Regions from separate parts of the Homo sapiens genome. Here regions 1, 2 and 4 are each linked to region 3. Evidence: promoter capture Hi-C in human tissues and cell types (Jung and others, 2019). All regions are on one chromosome and are shown on one strand. Each heading gives the region's core, a stretch centred on a gene start or on the middle of the fragment in contact. The rest is flanking DNA. Distances are from core to core; before and after follow the strand shown. Region 1 overlaps LRPPRC (leucine rich pentatricopeptide repeat containing). Region 2 overlaps THADA (THADA armadillo repeat containing). Region 3 holds the start of THADA (THADA armadillo repeat containing). Region 4 has its middle 13 kb from the start of LINC02580.

Evidence for each region. Contacts are between HindIII fragments. The study calls those that stand out against the background at their distance.
Region 1: a fragment that was not itself captured here is called in contact with the fragment with the promoter of THADA in region 3 in 2 of the 25 tissues and cell types used here (dorsolateral prefrontal cortex and mesenchymal stem cells).
Region 2: a contact is called between a fragment that was not itself captured here and the fragment with the promoter of THADA in region 3, in 1 of the 25 tissues and cell types used here (lymphoblastoid cells).
Region 4: a fragment that was not itself captured here is called in contact with the fragment with the promoter of THADA in region 3 in 1 of the 25 tissues and cell types used here (lymphoblastoid cells).

Annotation. Positions count from the first base shown.
Region 1 is chr2:43,933,455-43,940,954 of GRCh38, reverse strand. LRPPRC (leucine rich pentatricopeptide repeat containing) reads left to right here. Exons shown (of 38, transcript NM_133259.4): 24 at 6,077-6,201; 25 at 6,659-6,765. Among named protein-coding and RNA genes, the nearest start is that of LRPPRC, 59 kb to the left of the region's middle. The HindIII fragment of the contact is 4,461 bases long and covers 1-3,768 here.
Region 2 is chr2:43,228,611-43,235,569 of GRCh38, reverse strand. THADA (THADA armadillo repeat containing) reads left to right here. Exons shown (of 38, transcript NM_022065.5): 37 at 2,688-2,857; 38 at 4,227-4,719. The coding sequence ends at 4,622. LINC01126 (long intergenic non-protein coding RNA 1126) reads right to left here. Exons shown (of 1, transcript NR_027251.1): 1 at 6,715-6,959. Among named protein-coding and RNA genes, the nearest start is that of LINC01126, 4.9 kb to the right of the region's middle. The HindIII fragment of the contact is 6,129 bases long and covers 1-4,945 here.
Region 3 is chr2:43,593,391-43,600,985 of GRCh38, reverse strand. It overlaps THADA (THADA armadillo repeat containing), which reads left to right and starts at 4,948. Exons shown (of 38, transcript NM_022065.5): 1 at 4,948-5,055. The HindIII fragment of the contact is 9,276 bases long and covers 546-7,595 here.
Region 4 is chr2:43,111,264-43,118,834 of GRCh38, reverse strand. No RefSeq gene overlaps it. Among named protein-coding and RNA genes, the nearest start is that of LINC02580, 13 kb to the right of the region's middle. The HindIII fragment of the contact is 5,622 bases long and covers 11-5,632 here.

The sequences.
Region 1 (7,500 bases), core at 289-2,788, 340 kb before region 3:
TAAGCCACGTATTTTACATGTAGTCCAAATGAGTATTATTTCAAACATTTTCTTTTGTAAGTATTTTATCTTATTAAAATCATGCCTGATTCATGGAGATGACAGCAATCCGTCACATTAAGGAAGAAAGAAATGCTTTAAAATAGGTTAAAAGAGTTTTTTATTAGTCTTCATGTTATGGTCAAGGAAATGAAATTAATAAAGTCTGGGCCATCAGATATTAAAGCATAAAAATTTGTATGATGCAGTTTCAGGTTCACTTGTTTTATACCTGATCCATTTTGGTTTCATTGCATGCATTAAAAAATAACTGAAGCTGTTTAACTGGATTATGTTGGTGCAAGTGATCAAAGCAGCTTTAATTTCTGCTTTCCATTAAGGATTTTTTTTGTGCTGGTTTGTGTTATAATCTGTATATGTACATATGCATTTCATTTAAGTGTGTCATGAACTTCATATATACTATCCTCCCAGAATTCTTGCTGAATTAATCTTGAGTTCATAAAGGTCACAATTTCTCTAAGATGAACTTGTAACAATGTTTTTGGAACTCACTGTAACACTTTAATATGTTACATAAATGGGAAATAGGCTTTTTAAAATGTTGATGATTCTGTTACACATGCTCCCCTTCAATTTTAGCATCTTCATTTGTACTGGATACTTTCATTATTTATGGGAATGCTTGCCTTCTAGAGTAAAACTCCTTATGTGCTGAAAGGAAATTAAGGAGGTTTGGCTCTTTTACTCCATTATTGCAATTAAGAATTTAGCATCATCAGTGCCAAAGGACAAAAAGTGGTTCATTTGCCCTAGGGGGACAGGACAGTGATAAGATGATTTTTCGTCAAGGATCATTGGGTCGTAATTAAGTTACATTCATGGCTATTGCTTTTTGAAGGATGATTGGTAAATGACAGGCTTCATGTGCTTAGTACGGACAGTGTGCAGTAGGGTTTTTTCTGCCTCTGTCAGAAAATCCTGTTGAGCCTGATAATGTAAATGTGGCATTTTATTCTGAACAAAAGAGCAGGGAAATGAGCTATCTTGTCTAATCATTCAGTTGTTTAACACCGACTTCCAGTTTAGACTCAATTGGCTGGAAAGCACTTGACATGTGAAGTTAGTGCTGTTCCGAACGCATGTTTGAGTAAATTTTAAAGTAAGTGACAGCTAAATTGTACCTAGGGAAATTACAAAGCCTTCAACACAGTTAATTTTTTGGGGAGGATTAGTTGTAATTGCAACACCAGTCTCCTTGAAGATTCCTCATTTATAGATGATGAACAGAAAAAAAACATTTAGCTCTTTCAAGTGCTGGTTCTCTTAACAGAATAATTTTTGTGAAGATGATGGTTTCTCTTGAATTGGTTTCTTCCCATATTGAACATCTGCTGAGGATTTGTAAGATAGTTTGTTTTTAAGGAGTTCAGTTTGGTTTTTGTTTGTTTGTTTTTTCTTTTTTAAACTTTTTTCTCCCCCCACAGCCCTTCTTTTCTGTAGTGATTGCAGATTTGAGCGCATTTCAGTAAGGAAGCCTGTTACATAAATTGCCACTTCACTAACAATGTATAAGTTTAAAGTACTTTATTCCAAATAAAAAAAATCAATATTTGTCATCTTTCGTTTTTTGTTGTTGTTGTTGTTTTTATTTTTATTTTTATTTTTATTTTTTTGAGACGGAGTCTTGCTGTCTCCCAGGCTGGAGTGCAGTGGCACGATCTTGGCTCACTGCAAGCTCCGCCTCCTGGGTTGATGCCATTCTCCTGCCTCAGCCTCCCGAGTAGCTGGGACTACAGGTGCTCACCGCCACGCCAGCTATTTTTTTTTTTTTTTTTGTATTTTTAGTGGAGACGGGGTTTCACCATGTTAGCCAGGATGGTCTCGATCTCCTGACCGCGTGATCCACCCACCTCAGCCTCCCAAAGTGCTGGGATTACAGGCGTGAGCCACCGCGCCCGGCCATCTTTCTTTTGTTGTTTAAGTATACTCTCTGGGATTAGAAAGTTACTTAGTATAAATTACGAGACTTAAGTTTAAAGCTACTAATAGATAAATAGATAGTTGTCACTCGTGGTTGTTTTAACAATTCCAGATTGTATGAAATACATTTATGATTTTTACAGGTATATGTATTGAGGAATGTATATGAGTTTTAGGAGTACATGTTTCTTGGTATCTCAAAGTAGATAGTTTTATGATTGGTGGATGTCCCATAGAAATGTCTGTCCAGCAAACTTACATGCTACATGGTGTTTGTTTTTCTGTCAGTGACGTTATAGCATACTTCAGTTTCAGAATGAGGACTCAAATGAGTGGTACTATCAGATTTGCCATCGGAGCTTCAAGCTTATTTATCGGGATGTTCTTCCGTGTAATAATGAAAAAATTGTAGTTTGTAGTAGCTCTTTGTAGTCATGTTCCCTTAAGAAGTGAATTCTAGATTCTAGAATGAATTTTGATGCAGGCCAAGTGAGTCTATTCAAGTTAATGAATTTAACTCTATTTTAAGTTTCCAAATTTCTTGCTGGACCCAGCCTATCTCATATATATGTTCTTAAAATTTAAAATTACAGAATCTTTTCCTCAATTTTACCTTTATTTCATAGACTTACAGAATTTTGGTAAAGCTTATATTTTTAATTTGCACCAAACAAAATACTGCTTTTTAAAATGATTGCTTACTTTTTATTAGTGTACGTAGTTTTATGCATGAAAATTATGTAGTCTATTGAAATTTTGAGGGGGGTGTCTTGATTTTTTTTTTTATAAAGGGTAATAGTATGCTACAGAGTTGATTTTCTTTTAGTGTCATTTGTGAAAGCATTGACTAAATTTTTATTAGGAGTGAGCCTTTAAATATTTGTATGTGAAGCTTTAGGAATTATGCATATATGCTGATACAAGCATGGGCTCAAAGTTTTGAATGCAAAATTAATGTGTCAACATTAATTTCTTCAGAGGATTATTGTTATTTCTTAGCAGGATTTAAATCATTTCTAGTGCTCAAAGAAATTCACAGATCACTTTGGGTCACAGAAGCTAGAAGTAGACTGATTGGTAATGTGTTGTCCCACATTTTGGTTGTAAAGCAATTTTTACCTTTCTCCTTTTGATATTGTGCTTCCCTTACTGATTTCATCCTGCCTAATAAAAGTGGTATTTTCACCTGATGATTTTCTCTGCTTGTGCAAAACACTTTAGATGAACCTAATAAGCACAGAGTCATAGAACCTGTTAGAACTAGGAGGGAACCCAAATGTCCTTGAGTTCAGCTGTTGTGATAATTTGCTTTTCATCACCACTTCTAGAAATGTATCACGTTGCTACAGCTGAGTAGCATAAGTACTCTTATCAGTTGGGATGGAAATCCAAAGTCCTATGACTACATAGCTATCTTCATAGCAATGCAAATTTTAGGTGCTTTTAAACATATTTTTCATTTCCGTCATCACCTAAGTTTTCAAGCTTTATTATGAAAGATTAATAGTGACATAAATTATGTGGGGAATGTAAATTTTTGTCTTTTAAAATGACATGATCCAACCACAAGTCCGAATTAGATAATAGGGACTGAAGAACTGACTAGTCATTTACTTTGTTTTTATCTCCAGTACACTTTGTATGAGGTATTTCATTATAAATTTCTAATTCATTTTGTTGGCATCCTAAGAGCAGTAACATTGGTTCTTAAAATTACTGACAAATATATGAATTATTTCCATTTTGCCATTCTTGTTTTTTCTGTTGTTGTTCTGAACATGTATAATCTTCAGAAGCATATATTTGGAGACCAAAGACTATTAACGTGTCGCTTTGATTGACAGAACAATTATTCATTCATTTATTGATAGCTTTGACCTAATGTAGGGGGAAATACAATTGAGACAATACTATTCTAGTTTGGGAATTGATCTGGAAAAGCAAATCATGCCACTTAAAAAAAAATCGTATGTGTGTTAGCTTTGCTCTTAAAAAATGTTTTAGTAGTTTTTCGTTAAGCAGAGTTATAGAAAGGCAATAACCGAACCTGTGTCTGAAGTAAGGGAAAATACTGATTATATAAAGCTTTATATCATATGTGGTAGCTACTGTACCATTTCTCTTCTATGACAGTAATCCAGCCTGCAACATCTACTTGCAGTTTGAAATTAACCTGTAATTTAGTCTTCACCCCAAATGACAAAAATTCAAATGACTCTGTGGGGTGCCAGAAGATGCACTGTAAACAGGGCTTAGTAAGGGGATAAGGTAAGAGTTCCATCAGGATAGGCTCGTTTTCACTGTGTCACTATTATTGCAATAAAACTAACATTTCTTCGTTGTCTTTTACTTTTTTAGTACAGCTTAAAATCAGATCTTGATAAAATAGTAATTCAACTTAGGGCAATGTAACATTTGTATAATAGGCAAAAATGTGAAGGCTTTAACAGGAAGTATAAAAGGACTTTCTGGTTTTGAAAACTGTTATGTGTATGAGAAATTTATATTCTCTACAAAGATTTTCACTAATTGTCACTAGTTGTACTTGGAGCCATGTCTCTAACCATGCCTCTTTTTAAAATACCTTTCATACTCTCTTTTCATAAATCGTTAATTTCTTATTCCAAATTGCACCACTTTATTACATTATTCAAATACCAGTGCTTTTAATAAAGCATAATGTGTAATTAGATGTACTGAACTGACAATGGGAAGTCCAGCGACTTGCTTACCTAGTACCTTCCTCTGTTTACCTGGTAGCCTTAGTCAAATCAGCCAGTCTCTAGATGCCCCAGTTTCATTATTTCTTTGAAAGTAAAAGGGGGTGGCAAGTAGAATTGGATCATATAATCTCTATAGTTCTTCCAAGGGATTTCTTTTTTTTTTTTGAAACAGAGTTTCACTTTTGTTGCCCAGGCTGGAGTGCAATGGCACGATCTCAGCTCACTGCAACCTCCACCTCCCGGGTTCAAGGGATTCTCCCTCCTCAGCCCCCCGAGTAGCTGGGATTACAGGCATGCGCCATCACGCCCGGCTAATTTTATATTTTTAATAGAGATGGGGTTTCTCCACCTCAGGTGATCCGCCCTCCTTGGCCTCCCAAAGTGCTGGGATTACAGGCATGAGCCACCGCACCTGGTCTTGCAAGGTCTTAAATATTTCTCATACTAACATTGTCCTTTTATTTTATTTTTTTTATATTACCTGTGAATTTTATTTCAGTATGGTAAGAGAGAAATTACAAAAAAACTTTTAATAAAGACAGGGTTAAAGTAAATTGAAAGCAAATTGTCCTTTTATGGGGGGAAAATACTTCTTAAGGACCCACAAGAATATAGTACCACACTGTTGTTTAAGAAACTGATTTAATGACAGTGTCTTTTTATTTTAATTTCTCACATAAAAGAAGGCTTGACTTTGTAATTGGAAATAATTTTTAAAAGCTTACCCTTTAATGAAAAAAGTATTTAGAATTCTTCTAGAATTCACTGACCAACACGAATATCCTAGTTTTCATAATAGTAAGTTCCCATATATATGAAACTTGAGGTTATTTCCTACTTGGCTAGTAAGGTGACAGTACAGAAAATATTATGATAAAGATGAAAAAGTTCTTGAAAATTCCTTATTAGCTATTGGTGGACATTTAATAACGTTTACCAAATCTGAAATTATTGAGATACAATTGTTAAAGGCACGTAAGTGATTGGAAAAAAGTATTTGACGGTAGTCCTTGCTTTCAGAAGTAATACATTCTTACAGCAACTTTCTACATAAAGTCAGAATTTACAGTAAAATCAGAGAATGCCTTAATCTATTTGGACTTTTTTATAAAGTACCCTTTAACACACGAAATAATAAAAGATGAAGCAGGGTAAATAGTGGATTGCTGATGATGTATGTTTTCTGAACATTTACTTATATATAAAGATTGTTTCTTTTTTTCCCCCATTTTAGCTTTGTGGTTTTCTACCTTAAGTAAAGCTCAGTTGTTTACATATTAACTGGTCATTAAACATCTCTCTAAAGTATTACTAAGAGACTAAGCTGAATTCGATTTATTTTATTCATTGCTAATTTTTTTGTTTCTAAGGGGCGACCTATCTACTGCTCTTGAGGTCGCCATTGACTGCTATGAAAAGTATAAAGTATTACCAAGGATTCATGATGTCTTGTGTAAACTGGTAGAGAAAGGCGAGACTGATCTAATTCAGAAAGGTGAGTCACTTTCTAGTATCTTAATGTAGTTTTTTTTTCCCTTCTTGCTGATTTAATCTTAGTGTATTGTTAAGAGAAACCAGCAGAAGGCCAGCACATTCAGATAAACTTTCTTTATACTTGTGAAATCTAAAAGAAAAATATCAGGTAGATTTCCAATATTATACATGTTCTTGATTTTAGTAACTGTTCATTTTGAAAAAATGTCTGTTATTTTTGTGTTCTAATTCTTGGTGATCTGCCTTTATGAAGATTTTTTTTACCCTTATCCTCACTAGTTCTCTTTGTAGCTACTCTGTTAGGTACTTAATTAGTCGATATAGCTATATTCTTTAAGTTATTCTTAATATTTGTTTTTAAAATAAATTTTTCTTGTATTTGTCTGGAACTTCATATGATACTGTTTTTCTGGGTTTTTTTTTCTCCTAATATATATATTTTTTTCTCTCCTACCTAGCAATGGACTTTGTGAGCCAAGAACAAGGTGAAATGGTGATGCTCTATGATCTCTTCTTTGCCTTCCTACAAACAGGAAATTACAAAGAGGCCAAGAAGATCATTGAGGTGTGATTTTAACTACAGTGTTCTAATTGTAGAGCTATTTAGACTCTTAATTAGAATACATTTAAAAATTTTAACCTTTAATTACACTTGTTCTGATTCATGTTAATAGAATTCAATCCCAGTAATGTTGGGGGAGGGGGATCTCGGCCAGCTTCTTTATTGTATATAATTACAGTTCAGAAAAGGCAGTCTGGTTGTATATTAAATTTGTTTCCTCACTTTGTTAAATTCACTATTATATATCAAAATGATATTTGCATATTAAATCTTGGATTGTGGAACAATTAAATTAAACTGGCATTCCTGGGTGTAAAGTTGCTAATCCTCTTTGCCAAAGAATTCTTTGTTCTTAAAAGCAGTGGAATTTAATTTGCTGCAGACCATGCTCAAGATTTATTTGTAATGCTTGTCTACAAGTTAATCAGCCAAACAAGTGCTGTCTGCAACTGTTTGGCATTTAATTTAAATTTTCTTCTTCTTTTTTTTTCCACTATGCTAAGCAGCTTATGGGAAATGGTAGGTGACAAACCTGGCCTATTTAGGATTAGTATATTTTATCTAGGCTTTACTAAATTTTGCTTAGTGGAATTGATAAGTCAAGGGCCAACTATAAAGTCTGTCCAAATTGTGATTAATTTCACTATTAAACAATTCTGTGTCCACTAAGAAAACAAAACATTCCGCAGAAGATGGACCCATTGCCTTAAGAAAAATTATTTCATGTGATTAAAACTG
Region 2 (6,959 bases), core at 632-3,131, 360 kb after region 3:
GTGTAATCCCAGCACTTTGGGAAGCCGAGGGGGCAGATCACTTGAGGTCAGGAGTTCGAGATCAGCCTGACTAACATGGAGAAACCCCGTCTCTACTAAAAATACAAAATTAGCCGGGTGTGGTGGCGCATGCCTGTAATCCCAGCTACTTGGGAGGCTGAGGCAGGAGAATCTCTTAAACCTGGGAAGCGGAGGTCGCGGTGAGCCGAGATGGTGCCACTGCACTCCAGCCTGGGCAACAAGAGCGAAACTCTGTCTCAAGACAAAACAACAACAACAAAAAAGTGATAAGCTGGGCACAGTGGTTCATGCCTGTAATCCCAGCGCATTGGAAGGCTGAGGCGGGTGAATCACTTGAGGTCAGGAGTTCAAGACTAGCCTGGCCAACATGGTGAAACCCCATCTCTACTAAAAATACAAAAATTAGCCAGCCATGGTGGCAGGAGCCTGTAATCCCAGTTACTCAGGAGGCCGAGGCAGGAGAATCGCTTGAACCCGGGAGGTGGAGGTTGCAGTGAGCTGAGATCACGCCACTGCACACAAGCCTGGGCAATACAGCAAGACTCAGTCTGAGAAAAAAAAAAAGAGTGATAAACCCACTGGGTGCAGCGGCTCATACCTGTAATCCCAGCACTTTGGAAGGCTGAGGTGGGTAGATCACTTGAGGTCAGGAGTTTGAGACCAGCCGGGCCAACATGGTGAAACCCAGTCTCTACAAAAAATACAAAAATTAGCTGGGCAAAAACAAAATTATCTGGGTGTGGTGGCACATGCCTATAGTCCCAGCTACTTGGGGGCTAAGGCAGGAGAATTGCTTGAACCCAGGAGGCGGAGGTTGCAGTGAGCCAAGATCACGCCACTGTACTCCAGCCTGGGCAACAGACTCTGTCTCAATCAATCAATAAAAGTTGAAGGGAAAAAAGAAAGAAAAAGGCCACTTAATTATCCCTTCTCTATACAGATTCTCAGCCAATTGAGAACTGCAGAAAGGAGTTAGGTAGAGGTAAAAATGGAGATTGTATTGTAGGTAGAGGCCCAGTCAACACATGGCTCAGACCCACAGCCAAAATGCACCTTCACCCCCTCCCCTTTTCTGTTTCCTGGTTTAAATCTGGGTTCTAGGCTGCAGAGCAAGCAGCATGGGGAACGGGGACACTAAAGGGCAAGTGTCCTGGGGGACTTATCTGGAGCTCTCAAGATGGTGAGATCAGTACTTTCACCTGCTTACATGCAACTAGGTGCTGCTGTGTGACCTCTGAATAGTCCTGGCCCTACTGCAGGGTCACTACCCCTGCTGACCCCACCATCAAAACCTCTGGATTGTTGATGCTGGGTCTCCAAATCTGCGCTTTGCATGCACCATGAAACTTGTTGCCAACTGTAATTTCTTGATGTGTGCAAGTGGGTTACATAATACCCAACCCATAGGATGCTAGAAGGACTGGGGAGACAGCATTTGATCAGGGCCTGGCACTCACTAGGCCCTCAGTGGGGCCATCCCAGTAAGCCTGGTTCAACACCCACGGGAACTAAGCCTGCTGTTGCAGATTCTCGGTCGTCTGCCTGTGTGCCGAGTAAGTCTTTCGGGGGCCAGATGGTCAGGGTAAGTCTGTGTGCTCAAGTTAGAGATGTGGATTTGGGAGTGATCAGGGCTCAATAGAAATGCATCATTGAAAGACAGGCCTTTCAATGTCAGTTGGTGCAAGATGGGCCTACAGAGGTCCATTGTGCAGTGGGCTTTCAGTCCCGTGTTTCAGACACCCTCCAGGTTTGGGATGGGAGGGGCAGAGTTGTTAGGGGAAGTGACAACACCCCTGAGCCTCCCTCCAAACCCATATTTAGGATTGTCTAAGGCCAAATGTTGAAATAAGCAATGGTTTCCCCAAGGCCCCCTGCTTCCTCTTTCTGCACCCTTCTATTCTTTCAGTGCCCTTCCTCCAAGCACCCAGGAAAACAAGGGTCCAAAAACAAAAAACTCCGAGACAGAGGGCAGCAAAATAGGAGCCAAATGCAGCCTACCACCTGCTTTTTACAGCCCATGAGCTATCAATGGTTTTTACATTTTTAATTGGTTGGGAAAAAATAATATTTTGTGACACATTAAATTCAAATTTCAGTGTCCATAAATAAAGTTTTATTGGAACACAGCCACAACCATTTGTTTACAGATTGTCCATGGCTGCTTTCAGCCGAGGTGAGGAGGTATAGGCTTGCAAAGTCTAAAATATTGACTCTCTGGCCCTTTAAGGAAAAGCTTGCCGATGCCCTGCTCTAGGATGTGTCTTGTGCCCAAGAGATCTGCTTTCCAAGGAAAGGGCAAACCAGTCAAATCCAGGCAGATGTGCAGAGGAGACACTGGACAGGGAAGCCTTCCTGATCCTTCTGGTGACACTGGAGGAGCAGAGGGGAGATAACTCTCTAATCCTGCAGATGGAACTGCTTCTGTCCACACTGAGTTAGGGGGCATGGAAACAGTGGGTTCAGGCCTATGACTCATTCTAACAGTATAAATAGCAGGATTCAGAAGGTGATTAATCGTCTCCAGTGAGCCCACCCTACCAGCTTCCCTGCCAGGCTGGTGGCAGCGATTTTACCTGAGGCCTTTATTGTTCCCAGGGTCCTGCAGGCTGCCCTGGGGTCGGCCCTGAGCAGTATATTCATTGCTCACCTTTCTCCTGTCTTTGCAGAGTTTGCCTTCTGCCAGGTGGATGCCTCCATCGCTCTGGCCCTGGCCCTGGCCGTCCTGTGTGATCTGCTCCAGCAGTGGGACCAGTTGGCCCCTGGACTGCCCATCCTGCTGGGATGGCTGTTGGGAGAGAGTGATGACCTCGTGGCCTGTGTGGAGAGCATGCATCAGGTGATCCCGGGGTGTCAGGGGAGTAGGAGGCAGGGTTGGAGTGTCCTAAACCCGCTAGATGCAGCACCTACAGCCTCAGCTGGGCTTTTGCATGCTTAGACACAGAGCAGGAACCACTAGGAAAGTCACCCACTGGGTGCTGCCGAGGACACGGGGACACTCTTAGGCTGACTTCTGGGGTGCTGATGGTCAGCCTCCAGCTTAGCCAGGGGAGAGAACTCGGAAAGAAGCCCCTGGCCGGGCACAGCGGCTCATGCTTGTAATCCCAGCACTTTGGGAGGCCAAGGCAGGCGGATCATGAGGTCAGGAGATCGAGACCATCCTGGCTAACACGGTGAAACCCCGTCTCTACTAAAAATACAAAAAATTAGCCGGGCATGGTGGTGGGTGCCTGTAGTCCCAGCTACTCGGGAGGCTGAGGCAGGAGAATGGCGTGAACCTGGGAGGCGGAGGTTGCAGTGAGCCGAGATTGCACCACTGCACTCCAGCCTGGGCAACAGAGCAAGACTCCATCTCAAAAAAAAAAGAAAAGAAAAGAAAAGAAAAAAAGAAGCCCCTGGATGCGGAGAGTTTTATTATGGAGACTGCTTGTTAGTCAGTATTGGAGTTAGCCTGGGGCTTCCCAAAGTTAGGTCTGAGGGTGAAGCATTTTCAGAGAATTAGGATCTTTGCTGGGAACTTCCTGCTTGAAGAAAACTATTATTAGCCCCCTCCAGGGTGGGTGCAGTCACAGATAGGGAAACTGAGGACAAAGACAAGCAGCAAAAGCATCCTGAGAACTGAAATTGATCGCCACCAGCATCTGACTCAGCTGGCCTTCTTGGCATCCCCAGCAGGCCAAGGGTTCAAAACGCATTGTCCCTCTTTATGAGAAATTTGGAGACATGGTAAGTGTCTGACAAAAGGACCTTGAGAATCACAGTGTTATAGAAACAGGACACAGCCTAGTGTCCTGTGTTTGGAGATTCCTTCCTCTCTGGCCTGCTGCAGAGATGACCTTTCCTCCCTCCTCTCCAATTTCCAGCTGCACCTTAAACTCTAGAGCCCACTCCCTTGTTGAAGTCCCCTTTTCAGCATCCATCCCCCAAAGTATCTTGACTTTGAACCACAAACACATCTTTATCCAAGGTCATGTTAAGTCTGGGGAAAAAATTCCTCTCTGGTGGAGAAATACAGTGAGTGAAAATAGAAGGTGACCTTCAAGGCTGCAAGTGGTGTGTGTACATGGATGTTGACAGGCAAGAGTGCACCCTCTGTCAGGTGGGGGAAGGGAAACCCCTCTTGCATCTGGCAGGGTACTGCTTGGTCTGGACTGGGGCTTGTCACCATTCCCTGTAAGACTGACTTTCGGCTTTTTCATCTGATTTAGGTGGAAGAAGACTACCTGTTTGAAAAAGCAGAAGTCAACTTTTGGGCCGAGACCCTGATCTTTGTGAAATACCTCTGCAAGCACCTCTTCTGTCTCCTCTCAAAGTCCGGCTGGCGTCCCCCAAGCCCTGAGATGCTCTGTCACCTTCAAAGGATGGTGTCAGAGCAGTGCCACCTCCTGTCTCAGTTCTTCAGAGAGCTTCCACCAGCTGCTGAGTTTGTGAAGACAGTGGAGTTCACAAGACTACGCATTCAAGAGGAAAGGACTTTGGCTTGCTTGAGGCTGCTGGCCTTTTTGGAAGGAAAGGAAGGGGAAGACACCCTAGTTCTCAGTGTTTGGGACTCTTATGCAGAATCGAGGCAGTTAACTCTTCCAAGAACAGAAGCGGCATGTTGAAGAAAATCTGGGGGATTGGGATGGGGGTATGTGTGGATTTTTCCTCCACTAAATCTGCAGGAAACATGTTGAACATAAATTCAAAAATTTTATCCCATTCATGCCTCCCCTACTTCTGTGAGTCCAGTCGTCTGTCACTCCTTACAGAGAAACTTTTCTTCAGTTCACTCATTCAGGGCAGCCTATTTTATTGCTGCTACTGTAGGAAGTGAGGCGACTCCGTTGCAGATTTACTCTGTCCCCAGGTGCAGGCCACCTGCAGGCCTGAATGAGCCTTTTTCATCCCCCAGGGCCTCTAATGCCCTGCCATAGCCGCCCTGCATTCTCTGTGAAATGACTACAGAGAGTTGGATTTTAGCACATACACATGATCCCTCCCCTCTCCCCTTTTCTGGCTTTATGTAGGGGCTGGATTAGTTGGCAAACAGCCCATTTGGTCAGATTTGTGAATTTTGTTCCATTTTAGCAAAGCAGAAATATGTTCCAAATGTTGGATCCTGGGAGAATTCAGGATCAACTTTGCACAAATAATTTATTTTTATTGTCTGCATGTGTTAAGTCCTGCAGTGACCTACACATTCCATCCTAATTATTCAAAGAGCCATTGAGCATTTCCCCTACCCCCCAAAAAGTATGCTAATGCTAGGAAACCTGATTTTGCCACCCAGTGAAAGTATATCCGTCCTCTTAGCTGTGAGGAGGAACCTGGGGAAAGGAGAGTCAGAGAAAATGACTTATTCTGTGCCTACATTGTTTACCTATCGCTTGGTGGCAGTAACAAGTGTCTCACTTAAAATGCCATTAAACACATTTATCAGCTGGGCGCGGTGTTTCACACCTGTAATCCCAGCATGTTGGGAGGCTGAGGCGGGTGGATCACAAGGTCAGGAGTTCAAGACCAGCCTGGTCAAGATGGTGAAACCCCCGTCTCTACAAAAAATGCAAAAAAAATTAGCTGGGCGTGGTGGTGGGCGCCTGTAATCCCAGCCACTCGGGAGGCTGAGGCAGAGAATTGCTTGAACCCGGGAAGCGGAGGTTGCAGTGAGCCGAGATCGCACCACTGCACTCCAGCCTGGGCGACAGAGTGAGACTCGTCTCAAACACTCAAACACACACACACACACACACTCTCACTCTCTCTCTCTCTCTCTCACATCCTTTGCAGTGATTTTAATCTAGAAACCTTAATGATTTTCTTCCTTTTCAAGCCCAGCCCAGCCCTCTTCCTCACACATCCAGCAGGTGGCGCTCTTGCAAACGTTTTGCTGCTGGTCCAGTTTTTCACTGGCTCACCATTTTTCATTTATAATTTCAGAATAAGTGTTACCCACTAATAGTTATCTTGAGAATCATAGCTTTGGAAGGGTAGTAGCTTCATCCGCATTCATTTTTCATCCTACTGATCTGAAAAAAACATTTCATAGTATGTAAATTTGCTCCAGATTTTAGGGTCTGTAAAAAAAAAAAAGTACTCAGGTAAATGATCACTTAGAGTAATTTCATTGATGTTTCACAGAGTCTGAAGGGGCGGGTTAGAGGAGAGTGAGTTTACAATCATTTCCTACTGCAGAAAAGCTCATATTTCAAATGTAATTCATCGCTCTTCGAGAGAAAACCATCTAACACTAAAAATGCAGCTGTAAGCCAGGCATGATGGTGCACACTTGTAATCCCAGCTACTCAGGAGGCTGAGGTGGGAGGATCGCCCAGGAGTTCATGCCTGTGAAAGGCCACTGCACTCCAGCCTGAGTAACACAGCAAGACCCCATCACTAAAAGAAAGGAATTTAAGAACAAAAAAGCAGCCATACTGGAAGTATAGGAAAGGGGCTTTGTAGGAAGAGGCAGGAAAGAAGTTAACTCAGTGTCCAAAGTTTTGTCCTAAAGAGAACAGGAAATTCCCTGGGTGGTTTTGCAACCACTCGGCCCCAAATGTGGTTTTTGTGATCCTGAATTAATTACCTAGTTAGGAAACTGTGTAGCCCACACCTGATGGAAAGCTGCCAACCTAACACTTTTTGTTCTAAGACCTAGCTGGTGAGAAGTGAGGGACTTGGTAAAATAAATGTGGTGATAACCACAGAAAAATAATAATGAAACTGGCCCAACAAAGCCCAGCTCATTGGAAATGGCCAGCACTTCTTTTTTTCTCCATTTAAAATGAAATAAAAGCAGCTACATTAGACATTTTATACTAGCAGGTACTCTGTACACAAGCATGTCCCGTAACATGTCCACATGTTATCTCCAGAATCCTAATCTGCAAAGTGGGTGTTCTCACAGCTGTTGACTGGGACTCACCCCAGATTTGGACGTTGTTTCAAACAGATGTTTCCAC
Region 3 (7,595 bases), core at 3,699-6,198:
TTCTTATGCCTTTGTGTCCTCATAGCTTAGCTCCTAATGATCAGTGAGAACATATGATGTTTGATTTTCAATTTCTGAGTTACTTCACTTAGAATAATAGTCTCCAATCTCATCCAGGTCACTGCAAATGCTGTTAATTCATTCCTTTTTATGGCCAAGCAGTATTCCATTGTATACATATACCACAGTTTCTTTACCCACTCGTTGATTGATGGGCATTTGGGTTGGTTCCAAGATTTTGCAACTGTGAATTGTGCTGCTATAAACATGCATGTGCAAGTATATTTTTTGTATAATAACATTTCCTCTGGGTAGATACCCAGTAGGGGGATTGCTGGATCAAATGGTAGTTCTACTTTCAGTTCTTTAAGGAATCTCTACACTGTTTTCCATAGTGGCTGTACTAGTTTACATTCCCACTAGCAGTGTAGAAGTGTTCCCTGATCACCACATTCATGCCAACATCTACTGTTTTTTGATTTTTTTGATTATGGCCATTCTTGCAGGAGTAAGGTGGTATTGCATCGTGATTTTGATTTGCATTTTCCTGATCATTAGTGATGTTGAGCATTTTTCATATGTTTGTTGGCCATTTGTGTATCTTCTTCTTCTTCTTCTTCTTCTTTTTTTAGATGGAGTTTCGCTCTTGTTGCCCAGGCTGGAGTGTAATGGTGAGATCTCGGCTCACCGCAACCTCCACCTCCCGGGTTCAAGTGATTCTCCTGCTTCAGCCTCCCAAGTAGCTGGGATTACAGGCATGCACCACCATGCCTGGCTAATTTTGTATTTTTTAGTAGAGACAGGGTTTCTCCATATTGGTCAGGCTGGTCTCAAACTCCTGACCTCAGGTGATCTGCCCGCCTTGGCCTCCCAAAGTGCTGAGATTACAGGTGTGAGCCACTGTGCCTGGCCCTTCTTTTGAGAATTGCCCATTCATATCCTTAGCCCTTTTTGATGGAATTGTTTGTTTTTTTCTTACTGATTTGTTTGAGTTCATTGTAGATTCCGGATATTAGTCCTTTGTCAGATTTATAGATTGTGAAGATTTTCTCCCACTCTGTGGGTTACCTGTTTACTCTGCTGACTGTTCTTTGCCGTGCAAAAGCTCTTTACTTTAACTAAGTCCCAACTATTTATCTCTGTTTTTATTGTATTTGCTTTTGAGTTCTTGGTCATGAAATCCTTGCCTAAGCCAACGTCAGGGTTTTTCCAATGTTATCTTCTAGAGTTTTTAGAGTGTCAGGTCTTAGATTTAAATCCTTAACCCATCTTGAGTTGATTTTTGTATAAGGTGAGAGATGAGGATTCAGTTTCATTCTCCTATGTGTGACTAGCCAATTATCTCAGCATCTTTTGTTGAAAAGGGTGTCCTTTCCCAACTTTAGGTTTTTGTTTGCTTTGTCGAAGCTCAGTTGGCCATAAGTATTTGGGTTTATTTCTGGGTTCTCTATTCTGTTCCATTGGTCTATGTGCCTATTTTTATACCAGTACTATGCTGTTTCGGTGACTATGGCCTTATAGCATAGTTTGAAATCAGGTAGTGTGATGCCTCCAGATTTGTTATTTCTGCTTAGTCTTGCTTTGGCTATGCGGGCTCTTTTTTTGTTCCATATGAATTTTAGCATTGTTTTTTCTAATTCTGTGAGGAATAATGGTGGTATTTCGATGGGGATTGCATTGGATTTGTAGATTGCTTTTGGCAGTATACTTCCTCTAGGTGTTACCATTCCATTTATCTGCCCCTTGCGTACTAGAAGGACTAGAAGGAGTTGCCTCTGCTTGATCTTGCCAATTCCTCTCTTCCCAGTCTCTTTTAAACCCATTCAAATCTGCTCCAAGTAAACTTTGGCAACTTCATCCTTCTAGGTGCTCAGGCCAGAAACTTTGGACTCATCTTTGACTCTTCATTTCTTCATACCCATATTCTATCCTTCAGAAAAAAATCCTGTTAGCTCTGCTTTCAAATTATATCCAAAACCTGTCCACTTCCCGCTCTCCACTGCTACCACCCTGGTCAGTGCCACCAGCATCCTGCCTGCCTAGTTTACCACAACAGCCTCACTGGGCTTCCTGCAGGCTCTACAGTCTTTTATTTTTTTTTCTGTTTTGTGACGGAGTCTCACTCTGCAGCTCAAGCTGGAGTGCAGTGGCGCAATGCTAGCTCACTGCAACCTCTGCCTCTGGGGCTCAAGCAATTCTCGTGCCTCAGCCTCCCGAGTAGCTGCGACTACAGGCACACAACATCATGCCCAGCTAATTTTTTTTTTGCATTTTTGTAGAGACGAGGTTTCACCATGTTCCCCAGGGTGGTCTTGAACTTCTGAGCTCAGGTGATCCACCCGCCTCAGCCTCCCAAAGCGTTGGGATTACAGGCGTGAGCCACCGCGTCCGACCTACAGTCTCTTCTTAACAAAGTAGCTCCAGTGATTATTTTGAAATGTACATTAGATGTTATTATTCTTTTGCTCAAAATCACTCCTCATTTCATGAAAGAGTCCATGAAATAATGTGAAAGCCTTATATAATCCAAAGCCCCTTGTCCCACTCCTTAGTATTTACCTTGCTTGGCTCCGGCCACTCTTGCCTCCTTGCTATTCTCCCAGCAGGCAAGCCCTGCCCTGGAAACTTTGTACTGGCTGTTCCCTCTGTATGGAAGGTTTCCCCTTCACCAAGTGTCTATGTCTCTTGGAAATCTTTACTCAGTGAGGCCTACCCTGATTACCCTATTTAAAGTTGCAATGTACCTCCCCTATACTCTCACTTTCCATTCCCCTATTTTTTCCATGGCGGTGTTAAATTGAACTAAATACCGCCTGAGAAAGCCTCTGCACTTCCATATTTGAGTCCTTGTGGATGAACCATAACCTAACTTAGTAGGTAGACAAGACTGAAAGCCTAATTTAGGAGTGTGCTTCTGTAACAATAGCTGAGTTTCAGCCAATCCCAGCAGCCATACTTCAACTATTCATACAATGCTTACTGTTCAAACTGTGTTCAGGTAAGGCAAATGCCAAGCTGTAACCCATCCAGCTGCTTCCGTACCTCACTTGCTTTTTGTACATCACTTTCCTTTCTTTGTCTGTAAATGTGCTCTGACCACGAGGCATCCCTGGAGTCTCTCTGAATCTGCTATGATTCTGGAGACTGCCCGATTTGAGAATCATTTTTCCCCTTGCTCAATTAAACCCTGTTAAGTTTAATTTGTCTGAAGTTTTAACAGTAGCTTCACCTTTCAACATATGTTTATTATGTTTGCTCCCTAGCCCACCTCTCGCTGTGCAGGGTGAAGAGTTGCAGTGTCTGCCAACAAAAAAGGGGTTCGGACCCACTGAGTTATATAATTAGTAGGTCTGAAACAATATACATATTTTAAAAAACATAAAACTTAAAAATGGTTAAAATGGTAAATTTTGCTGTGTATTTTACCATAATTTAGAAAAAAAGGAAATAAAATCTCACAGCTCCTGTAAAGTAGCATTTCAAGAAATTTTTACTTCAGTTATGTGTGAGTACTTCTACGTCCACAGTTTCAAAGTCTGCAATGTATTTCTTACTATGTCAGGGTCAAAAATACCAGAAAAAATTATGGTGGAGAACCGTCTGCACACACTCACCAGCTGACATGCACAACATAGTTCACAGCAGCAATGTTTAGAACAAAAACTGGAAATAATGCACATGTTAAGAGGCAGCAGGATGGATACATAATGAAGTATATTAAACAATGGAAAATTACGGTCCGGGCGCCATGGCTCACGCCTGTAATCCCAGCACTTTTGGAGACCGAGGCGGGCGAATCACGAGGTCAGGAGTTCAAGACCAGCATGAGCAACATGGTGAAACCCCGTCTCCACTAAAAAATACAAAAATTAGCTGAGCGTGGTGGCGCGCGCCTGTAATCCCGGTTACTTAGGAGGCTGAGGCAGGAGAATCACTTGAACCCGGGAGGCAGAGTTTGCAGTGAGCCGAGATCGCGCCACTGCACTCCAGCCTGGGCGAAGAGCACTACAGCCACCTGTAGGTGAATATGAAAAGCAATGCTGAAAGAAGCAAATTGCTGGAGAATACATACGCAATTCCAAAAGCTTCAAAATTGAACGAAACAAGATAGTGATACATACATTATGTGGTAAAGCTATAAAGAAAACCAAGGCAAGCTGATATAAAAAATTCAGAAAATAATTATTAAAAACTTAAGTCATTAACGTTTAGAGAACTGAAATGTCTCTATTTTCCAAATTAATACTCCTGATAATAGCATCAGGTCTTTCCTGATCTTGCCCACTGTCGCAGCTCCCAGTGACACCCCGTTATTGTATTTATTTTTCAAGGACTGAACCATCTGACAATTTGTATGTGCTGCGTAATACATGTATCCTCAGTAGGGGATAGCTTTCAAGGCTAGCGCTTGGCGACGCTCTGACAGTAGAGTTCATTATCTATTGAATGAATATATGCGCTTTGGCACACGTTGGTTCAGCACTACTCATTTTAGTCCGAATCCTTCTCGTGGCTTCCGTTCAGTCGCCGCCCAAACCCCTGCCCCATCTCGCAGGCTCTAAACTCCCTGGACTCGTTCCCGAGTCCCAGACGTAGTTTTCTCCTAGACTCTGCACTGGGCCAACAGAGTGGGAGAAAGGTGGAAGGTCTGGATTGGGAGAAAAGCGCTTCCCAGGCGTCCAAGCATGTGAAGAGAATGAGGTCTTTTCATTCAACAAGAGACCGTTGAATGAAGGCCCCTCAGCAACAAGGCCCGTCAGCCCTAACGCCATGAGGAACGCGCGGCGCTGACGGTACAGTGGCTGGTTAACTAAACCGGATTGCTACCGGCCACCCCGGTGACGTCACGACCTCCTCGAACTCCTGATTGGAGGAGCTGCGTTTGGTCAATTCTCGCGATGACTCCTCCAGGTTACCCCTCTCTCCCTCCCTTTGCCCTGACCCGGTAGTCGACCGTGGACCGCGCTGCGAGCCTCGGAGACGCCGTAGAAGGAGACCTGCTTCCGGGACTGGACCAGGCGCCTGCGACTCTTCTCAGACGCCGACGTGCACGAGGTTTGGCTCCCAGGTGTCCTGCCTGCCAGACCCGCGGTAGCTCGGCTCGGCCAGTTTTGCTAGGGCTGCCTGGCGAGCCACACCAATTCCCATCCTTTGGTATCGCCAGGATTCGGCGGCTGTGAAACTGATTTCCGGTCGCTAAGGTCTCCATGGAGACAGCACTTTAACCACTTTCTCCCACTGTCATTCCTCGACTCCACGTGGTTCAGAAATCGCCCAGAGAATGTTTGTGGGAGTCAGCCAGGAAGGTGTAGAGTGAAGCAGCGTTCTAAAGGGAAGCAGTAAGTGGGACCTAGGAGGAGTGTAATTTACTGGGCACCTTCTGGCCTTGCGGTAGACACGGGATTTACCCCCTTGGGGACCCTGGTTCTTCAGGACACACGTTTAGGCATCATTTGAGCAGGCATAATTACCGAGTCTGCTTTTGTGTAGCCCTCAGAATTGCAAGAGCAAATCCTCCTGCAAACTTGCTTACCTTTCACCAGAGAATAGTCTCCCTAGTTAGGTTTCCCAGTCTCTTCTGGCTTTGTACGATGGTCACTTTCTTAGGAAGCGTGCCTCTATTCCTCTAGATCTGACTATCCCTTTACAAATTATTCTGTTGTCGACACTTTCCTAGCTGCGTCCATTTTTGGTTAAGTGGTTGCTCACCTGCCATTACTGTATGGATTTCTTACTTCCCAAACAGACCATAGGTTCTTAAGATGTAGAATGTCACTTAGATGTAGAATGCATTTTAGGTACCAGATAGTCCACCTTCCTGCCCTTAAAGACATATATCCCTTCTAGAACATCTCTGACAAATGTTTGTTAATTAATTTGTTTATTCGTGAAGTGTTTGTTAAACACCTACTATGTGCCAGGCACTGGTTTGGAAATTGAGACTTGAAACATGAACAAAATAGATTAAAGTTGCTGCCTTCATTCAGTTTGCTACTAGGTGAGACAGACAATATACAAATTTACAAGTTAGGGTAATTTCTGGTACTAGTAAGTGCTATGAAGAAAATTAACGGAAATGGTGTCTACGTGTGTTGTATTGGTGAGATTTTAGATAGAGTGGTCATGGAAGGCTTTTAGAAGGTAATGTTGCAGCAGAAACATGAATGGTGAGAAGGAGTCAGTCTTGCAAAGATGTGGAATGAACATTAAGGGGCAGAGATACTGAGAAGTGTAAAGCCTCTTAGGTGGGAATAAGAGCATCAGGAAGTACAAAGCTCTTGAGATGGTGAAGAGGAGATTGGTTTGAGATGAAGAGTGGAGGAAGGCAGGGTCAGATTATTTAGGGCCTTGAAGGGCAAAATCTCAAGTATTTATTTATTTATTTATTTATTTATTTATTTGAGATGGAGTTTCGCTCTTGTCTCCCAGGCTGGAGTGCAGTGGCACGATCTCGGCTCACTGCAACCTCTGCCTCCTGGGTTCAAGCCATTCTCCTGCCTCAGCCTCCGGAGTAGCTGGGGTTATAGGCGCCTGCCACCACACCCGGCTAATTTTTGTATTTTTAGTTAGTGCAGACGGGGTTTCACCATGTTGGCCAGGCTGGTCTTGAACTCCTGACTTCAGGAGATCCACCCGCCTCGGCCTCCCAAAGTGCTGGGATTACAGGCACGAGCCCCCACTCCTGGCCTCAAGTTTGAATTTTATTCTAAGTGTATTTAGAAACCCTTGGAAAGTTTTAAGGAAGAGAGTAAGTAATTCAATTTGATGAGAGTTTTTTTTAAAGAGATTGCTTTGATGATTGTAAACAGAATGGGCTCTTTGGAGGTAAGTGTAGAAGTCAGGAGACCAGTTAGGGAGCTGTTTCAGGAGTCCAAGAGAAAATATTCAGTCATCTTCTCTTTGAATATTCCTGGTGTTGGAAAATTTCTTTGTTTAAAAGGTAGCCCAGTCCTTAGTGGGACCATAGAGCTTTTCCTTTGTATTGATCTGGAATCTGTTTCCCTGTAGCTTGTACTGACTTTTACTAATCTAATAGCAAGACAAGAAGTCTAAGGCTGGGCGCGGTGGCTCACGCCTGTAATCCCAGCACTTTGGGGGGCCGAGGTGGGTGGATCACGAGGTCAGGAGATCGAGACCATCCTGGCTAACATGATGAAACCCCGTCTCTACTAAAAATAGAAAAAATTAGCCGGGCGTGGTGGCGGGCGCCTGTAGTCCCAGCTACTCGGGAGGCTGAGGCAGGAGAATGGCCTGAACCCAGGAGGCTGAGCTTGCAGTGAGCGCAGATCGCGCCACTGCACTCCAGCATGGGCGAAGGAGCAAGACTCCGTCTCAAAAAAAAAAAAAAAAAAAAAGTCTGTAGTAGACAAATAAATCTATTCCCTTTTTCTCCAAAACAGTCTAGCAGCTGTTTTAAGGCTCTTGTTCTGTTGACTTTTTCTCCAGGCCAAACACCTTTGGTTAACTGAGCTGTTCTCTGAAGGAGGTGCTCTCTAGGTCCTTCAGAAATAGTTCCATTGTTTGTTATGGCTCCTTAGAGTATGGCCGCCAGCGCTGTACCTAATGCTCTACATGTCACCTGGCCTGTTTGAATA
Region 4 (7,571 bases), core at 1,572-4,071, 480 kb after region 3:
ACACACACACACATGTTCCTTGACTTATGATGGGGATATATCTCAGTAAACCCATCGTAAGTTGAAAATATCATAAGTCAAAAATGTACTGAATACACCTAACCTACCAAACATCACAGCTTGGCCTGCCTAATGTAAATGTGCTCGGAACACTTACATTAGCCTACAGTTGGGCAAAAATCATCGGGCAATACAGTAAACTGTAGAATATCAGTTATTTAACCTCATAATTGTATGACTGACTGGGAGCTGCAGCTCACTGCTGCTGCCCAGCATCATGAGAGAATATCATACCACATACCGCTAGCCCAGGAAAAGATCCAAACTGAAAATTTGAAGAATGGTTTCTACTGAATGTGTATTGCTTTTGCACTATCATGAAGTGAAAAACATCATAATTCTGAACCATCATAAGTTGGGGACCATCTATGTATACATAGGAGATGTATATATCTCCTATAGGTTCTGTTTCTCCAGAGAACCCTGACTAATATAGATTTTGCTACCAAGAGTGGATGCTACTATAACAAATACCTAAAAATGTGGAAGTGGCTTTGGAATTAGGTAATGGGCAAAGACTGAAGAGTTTTGAGGTGCATGTTAGAAAAAGCCTAGAATGCCTTGAAGAGACTGTTGGTAGAAATACAAACATTAAACGTGATTCTGGTGAAGGCTCAGAAAGGAAAGAGTTGTAGAAAAAGTTTCTATCATCTAAGAGAATACATATATCATCATAAACAGAATGTTGGTAGAAATATGAACATTAAATGTACTTATGGTAAGGTCTCAGAAATGAGGAGCATGATGTTGGAAACTGGTAAAAAGGCAATCCTTGTTATAAAGTAGTAAAGAACTTGGCTGAATTGTGTTCAGTCAAGGTAAAACTTGGGAGTGATGACCTTGGATATTTAGCACAGGAGATTTCTAAGCAAAGTGGTGAAAGTGTAGCCTGGTTTCTCCTTACTGCTTATAATAAAATGCAAGAGGAAAGAGATAAGTTGAAGGAATTGTTATGCAAAAAGGAACCAGAATTTAAAGATTTGGAAATGCTCAGCCTGTCCATATTTCAAAAAGAGAGAAAACACGTTTCTCTGCTTGGTGCAAATACCAAAGGCCTGTCTGGACAATCACTCCATAAAAAGATTCCCACGAACTTAATCAACCATCTCAGTTGAAGCCAGGAATAGAGATGGGATTATATTAGCAGAAACACTTCCAGCTGGGACTAAAGAAAACAGAGAAAATGGAACAGAATGAAAGAAGGCTGTTGGACTTCTGGGATTCTACAGGACAGGACAATAGAGTTATCCAGCTTTGAACATACGTTATCCTTCAAGAAAAGGGAAGAATGACCCCTGAAGACAATTTGGAGATTATCAGGGCTGCCATTCACACCCCAGGCCCAGGGGCTTGGTTGTTTTTTCCTGCTTTCAGAGAGCGGGGCCACCTTCTTGGTTTCAGTGGGCCGAAATGTTGCCCAGTGCCTCAGGGGCAAGGTGACTAGCAGAGCTGCAGAATGGGATCTACCACCTAGGGTGGTGGGGGTGATGAAGCTGCCCCAGTGGGCACAGCATTCAGCCAAAGAGGATTATTCATTATTTTTTGTTTTTTTGAGACAGGGTCTCCTTCTGTCACCCAGGCTAGGATGCAGTGGTGTGATCATGGCTAACTGCAACCTTGACCTTCTGGGCTCAAGCAATCCTCCTGCCTCAGCACCCCTACCCCCGAGTAGCTGGGAATACAGGCATGCACCACCATACCTGGCTAATTTTTGTATTTTTTGTAGAGACAGAGTTTCGCCATGTTGCCCAGGATGGTCTTGGACTCCTGAGCTCAAGTAATCCTTCTGCCTTGGCCTCCCAAAGTGCTGGGACTACAGCCTAATGGATTGCAGATCTAATGGAATTTTCCTTGCTAGGTTTTGGATTTGTTTGGGATCCATTGCCCCTTTCTTCTTTCCAATTTCTCCCTTTTGGAATAAGGATGTCTATTCTATGCCTCCCCACCATCGTATTTTGGAAGCACATAAGCTTGTCTGGTTTCATAGGTTCACAGCTGGAGAGAATTTTGCCTCAGGATGAAACATACCTCAAGTCTCACCCATACCTGGTTTAGATATTCAGTGAGACTTTGGACTTGGAATTGATGTTGGAATGGGTTAAAACGTCTGGGGTTGCTGGGATGGGCTGAATGAATTTTGCATGAGAGAAGAACATGAATTTTATGGGGCCAGAGGATGGAATGTCTTGGAGTAAATTGTATCTCCCCACCAGATTCACATGTGAAAGCTCTGACTCCCAGTGTGACCCTATTTGGTGATAAGGCCTTTGAGGAAGTAATTAAGGTTAAATGAGGCTGAGTGTGGTGGCTCATGCCTGTAATCCCAGCACTTTGGGAGGCGGCAGGCAGATCACTTGAGGTCAAGGGTTCGAGACCAGCCTGGCCAACATGGCTAAACCCTGTTTCTACTAAAAATACAAAAATTAGCCGGGTGTGGTGGGGCTTGCCCATGGTCCCAGCTATTCAAGAGGCTGAGGTGGGAGAATCTCTTGAGCCCGGGAGGCAAAGGTTGCAGTGAGGTGAGATGGCGCCACTGCACTCCAGCCTGGATGACAGAGTGAGACTTCATCTCAAAAACAAACAAAACAAACAAACAAAAAAGGTTAAATGAGGTTCTCAGTGTGGGGTCCTAATCTGATAAATTGGTGTCCTTATAGAAAAGGAGGAAGCGCCACAGCCCTCCTCTCTGCATGCATGCCCCGAGGGAAGAGACTGTGAGAGGGCACAGTGAGAAGGAGCAATTCAAGGAGAGAGGCCTTATCAGAAACCAACTCTGCTGGCATTTTCTTTTTTTTTTTTTTGAGACAGAGTCTTACTCTGTCCCCGGGTTTGGAGTGCAGTGGTGTGAACTCAGCTCACTGCAACCTCTGCCTCCTGGGTTTAAGTGATTCTCCTTCCTCAGCCTCCCGAGTAGCTGGAATTACAGGTGCCCACCACACCTGGCTAATTTTTTTGTATTTTTTGGTAGAGATGGGGGTTTCACCTGTTGCCCAGGCTGGTCTTGAACTCCTAAACTCAAGTGATCCACCTGCCTCAGCCTCCCAAAGTGCTGTGATTACAGGCATGAGCCACCATATGTAGCCCCGTGCTGGCATTTTGATCTTGGACTTCCAGCCTCCAGAAGTGTGAGAAAACAAATTCCTGTTTAAGCCACTCAATCTGTGCTATTTTGTTACGGCAGCCCAAGCAGACAAATACAATTCCCCACAGCAATTTGCAGAGGAGTCATGAAGACTTAGATTTCAATTCTAGCTTTCACTGATTCATTCATTCAGCCAATATTCAAGTTCTGCTATGTGCTGGACACTGTGTCTACTGATTTCCACATCCACTGGGTTTCAATGGTGAGCAAAATGCACATGGTTCTCGTCCTGAAGGAGCTTAAAATCATGTAAGGGAGACATATTCCTCAAATAATTACTCGAAGAGACATAAAATAATAGCAGCAATGAGTGCTCTAGGAGGATGTCTCCTAGTCAAGAGGTCAGGGAAAAGTTTTTGAAGAAGTGACACCAGACCTGAGATACAAAAAGGGTGATTAGGAGTCAACCAGGTGAAGATGGGGAGGAAGGGTGTTCCATGCAGAAGAAACAGCATGTGCAAAGAATGCTTCTACCAAGGAGGAAGCTGGTGGGTGTTCAGGGGACTGGAAGAAGGCTGCCATGACTGAAACGGAGAGAGGAGGAGCAGAGTGGGAGGGGCTCGAGAAGAGGCTGGATGGCACAGGCCGGGCAGACCATGCCCAGGTCTTTGTCATAAGAGCAGTGGGAAGCCATTGAGCTGGCTTAACCTGGGAGTTGGCATGGCTAGATTTGCATTTCCAAAAAGGTGCTCGAGGCTGCCATGGGGGTGAGCGTGGTGGAGTGGAAGAAGACTAGCATGGGGACTGGCAAGGATGCTCCTGCAGGATTCAGGAGAGGCATGCGGGGGCCTTGGACTAGGGTGGTGGCAACAGACATGGAGGAAAGGGCAAGATTGGAGAATGATTTATTAAGGCAAAAAACCGGACTTTGGTGCCCAATTGTCTATAGGAGGTGAGGACAAGAGAGGAGCAGGGATGACCTGAGGTTTCTGGGTTGAGTAGCCAGGTGGGTGGTGGTGCCATCTGATTATAGAGAGATGATGGGGAAGACCAAGTTAGGGCTGGGGGCCACTACTTACCAATTGCATGAACTTGGACAGGTTACTTTTAAGCCCCTATATGCTTCAGTTTGCCCATCTGAGATAAGTGATGTGAGATGATATTTGTAGAGGATCTGCTCAGAGCAGCTGCTCCTGCATATCAAGCTTCCTGATCTTTTCCTCTGTGAAGTAGCCTGGGCAGATGCTATTGTTCCATTTTTAAGGTTGAGGAAGCTGAGTCTGCAAGATTGGAATCTTGCCCAAATCCACATACTTTGAAACCAGGCTTATAGGCAGGTGGTGGGAGGAGCCTTCCCTCCCTGCCAGTCTGCCTTCAACATCAGCTCACAGAGCCTAAGAGCAGAAATTATTCATCCATAAGTTGCTCAGCCTTCACTGGAGGTCTGGTATGGGTGGGGAGGAGGGAACATTGTTCAGGTGAGAAATGCAATTAGGGGAGGGGACAGAGCAGTGTTGGAGTGAGCAGGGTGAAATTTAATTTTAAGCACCAAATTCATGTCGTAGCCAATTTCCCAAATGTGGGCTGCTCACAAAGTTTCTTTTTTCACTCACATAAAGGCTCAGATGCTGTGATTGGCAGGCAGCCTTCCTCTGAGTGGAGATTCAGGCACCCAGGCTCCTTCCACCTTATGGCTCTGCTGTCTCTAGGCCATGAGGTCAGGCAGCGGGGGAAAGAGAGGTGGATGAGGCACATCTGCCTAACATCCTTAGGCCAGAAGCGAGACACATTGTTTCTGCTCACACTCCACTGGCCACCCTGGATAGCAAGGGAGCTGGAACTGTAGTCTAGATGGGTGCCTAGGGAGAAGGGAAAGGGAGTTTTGGTGATAAGCTTCTCAGTCCTGCTGTAACAGGTCAGAGCTGATTTCTACATCCTAAATATTACATTCTGGAGCCTGGTAAAGAGAGACATATCTTCCTGGACAGGAACTTGAACTGCTCCAGGCCAGGCTCCCAGGGTCCATCTGGGACTAGGCCTTTTGGTCAAGGTGGAGGAGAGGGGACAGAAAGGCTGTCCAGGCTCTGCTGGGATTTCTCCAGGAGGGGACAGGACCAGCCTTGGGGTAAGCAAGCTGAAGGAACCAAGCTTGATCCCATGCACTGGCTGAATGGGTGGCAGGAAGGCTCCTTCTGGGTACACTTTTGTGAGCCACAGAAATAGCCTCTGGCCAAGGCCAATGGGGAATTTGTCCTAAGTTTCTGAAGAGAGTGGGCTGTGCAGAGCCAGTGAGCAAAGCCTCTTGTATTGCACATAATTACATGTTTGTGGACTGCCAGAGAGAGGGGCATTGTTGTGAACTTTACTTGGGTGGCCTCATTGAGAAGGGATATTTGAGCAAAGACATGAAGATGCTAAAACATGAGGATACTTCAGGAAGGGCAGAGGGAACAACAGGCGCCAAGTCCCTGTAGTAGGAGCAGGGGTGCTGTGTTCTGGACCCTTTGCCTTCATCCAGGCCAGAGATGATGGTAGTAGCAGTGGGTAAGAGAGAAGAAGTGGTTAGCTTCTGCATCTATTTGGTAGGTACCTCCCTCTTTCCTCCTGTACCTTTCTTGGTTTTCTAGGAGTGACTTGTGAAGACACACTGAAGTGTTTCTACCTCTGTGCCGTTTTATAGACTGTAAGCCCCATGAGGGCAGAGAATGGGCCTTACCCTTACAGTGGGCTCAGGCACAGCTTATCCCTAGCACCTGGTTAAACATGTCTGTGTCCTGAGTCATCAGATTTCCTGGGGCTGAGCCTGGGTGTATTGCTCATGATGAGAAAAGCTTTCCTGTGGCTCGGACACTCCTGTCCCTCTTCTAAAGGAACTGTCCTGTGTATCCAATCAAAGGAGATGGGGCTTCATTGTCTTTTTTTTTTTTTTTTTTTGAGATGGAGTCTCACTCTGTCACCCAGGCTGGAGTGCAGTGGTGTGATCTCGGCTCACTGCAACCTCCGCCTCCTGGGTTCAAGGAATTCCCCTGCCTCAGCCTCCCGAGTAGCTGGGATTACAGGCACGCACCACCACATCAGGCTAATTTTTGTATTTTTAGTAGAGACGGGGTTTCATCATGTTGGCCAGGCTGGTCTCGAACTCCTGACCTCAAGTGATCCACCCACCTCAGCCTCCCAAAGTGTTGGAATTATAGGCATGAGCCACTGCGCCTGGCCAGGCTTCAGTGTCTTGAGTACCAGAGAGTCACAGTCCATCCATTCTTCCCGGCCCTGCTGTGAAGTGCTCAGGAGCTCAACAGTGGACAAGTTCCTGGGTTCTGTTTTGTCCCTGATAACGCCTGCCTGCTGGTTTCCTGGGGAAGTGACGGGGGCACATATGGCTGTGCCCAGCAGGTATCCCTGGCCCAAATCAGCTTGGCCTGTGCTCAGGCAGGGAGTGTTGGGCTCTGCATTGCTCACTCATTGATGTCAGGAGGGACCCACAGGAGTGTCTTGAGCTTGGTTGTGGAGTGTCCATCACCCACAATGTGCAGCCTTTGTTTAACCTGGGCCCTTCCCTGCAACACCTCTTGCCCTCTGACTTTTGCAGAAACTTGGGTGCAACTGATATTTACGATCCAGCAGGCTCTCGATGTTTGGGAGGGCTCTGTCCACTGGCCTTCCATAAGCCCCACAGTCTTGAATGCAAAATGTTGGTGTGGGCTTCTGGCTTTCTCTCGAATGGTGTTTTCTTGAGAGTTATATGTCTCCTGTGCTCTCATGCCACAAATTAACTGCCTTTTCACTTTTCCCACAGGTTTTATCTCTCTTTCTGTGTGGCAGGGTCTTACAGTGTAGTTGTTAAAAGTGTGTGAACTGGCCAGGCATGTAATCTCAGCACTTTGAGAGGCCATGGTGGGCAGCTTTCCTGAGGTCGGGAGTTCAAGACCAGCCTGGCCAACATGGCGAAACCCCATCTCTACTAAAAATACAAAAATTAGCCAGGTGTGGTGGTGCGCACCTGTAATCTCAGCTACTTGGGAGGCTGAGGCGGGAGAATTCCTTGAACCCAGGAGGTGGAGGTTGCAGTGAGCTGAGATTGTGCCACTGCACTCCAGCCTGGGCGACAGAGCGAGACTCCATCTCAAGAAAAAAAAAAAGTGTGTGAACTTTGGAACTGGACAGATTTGAGTGGGCATTGCGGCTTCTGCTCTTACTGGCTGTGTTATGTCTGGCAAAGTCCTCTGAGTGTCAGTTTACTCATCTGTAAAACGAAGACAATTGCAGTATCTACCTAGTAGCTTGGTTGTGAAGCCTCATTGAGGTAGTAACATAATGTCTGGACCCACAATAAATAAGAACTATTATTACACTTAATGAAAACCCTACTGGGTGTGGTGGCTCATGCCTGTAATCCCAGCAATTTGGGAGGCTGAGGAGGGCAGATTGC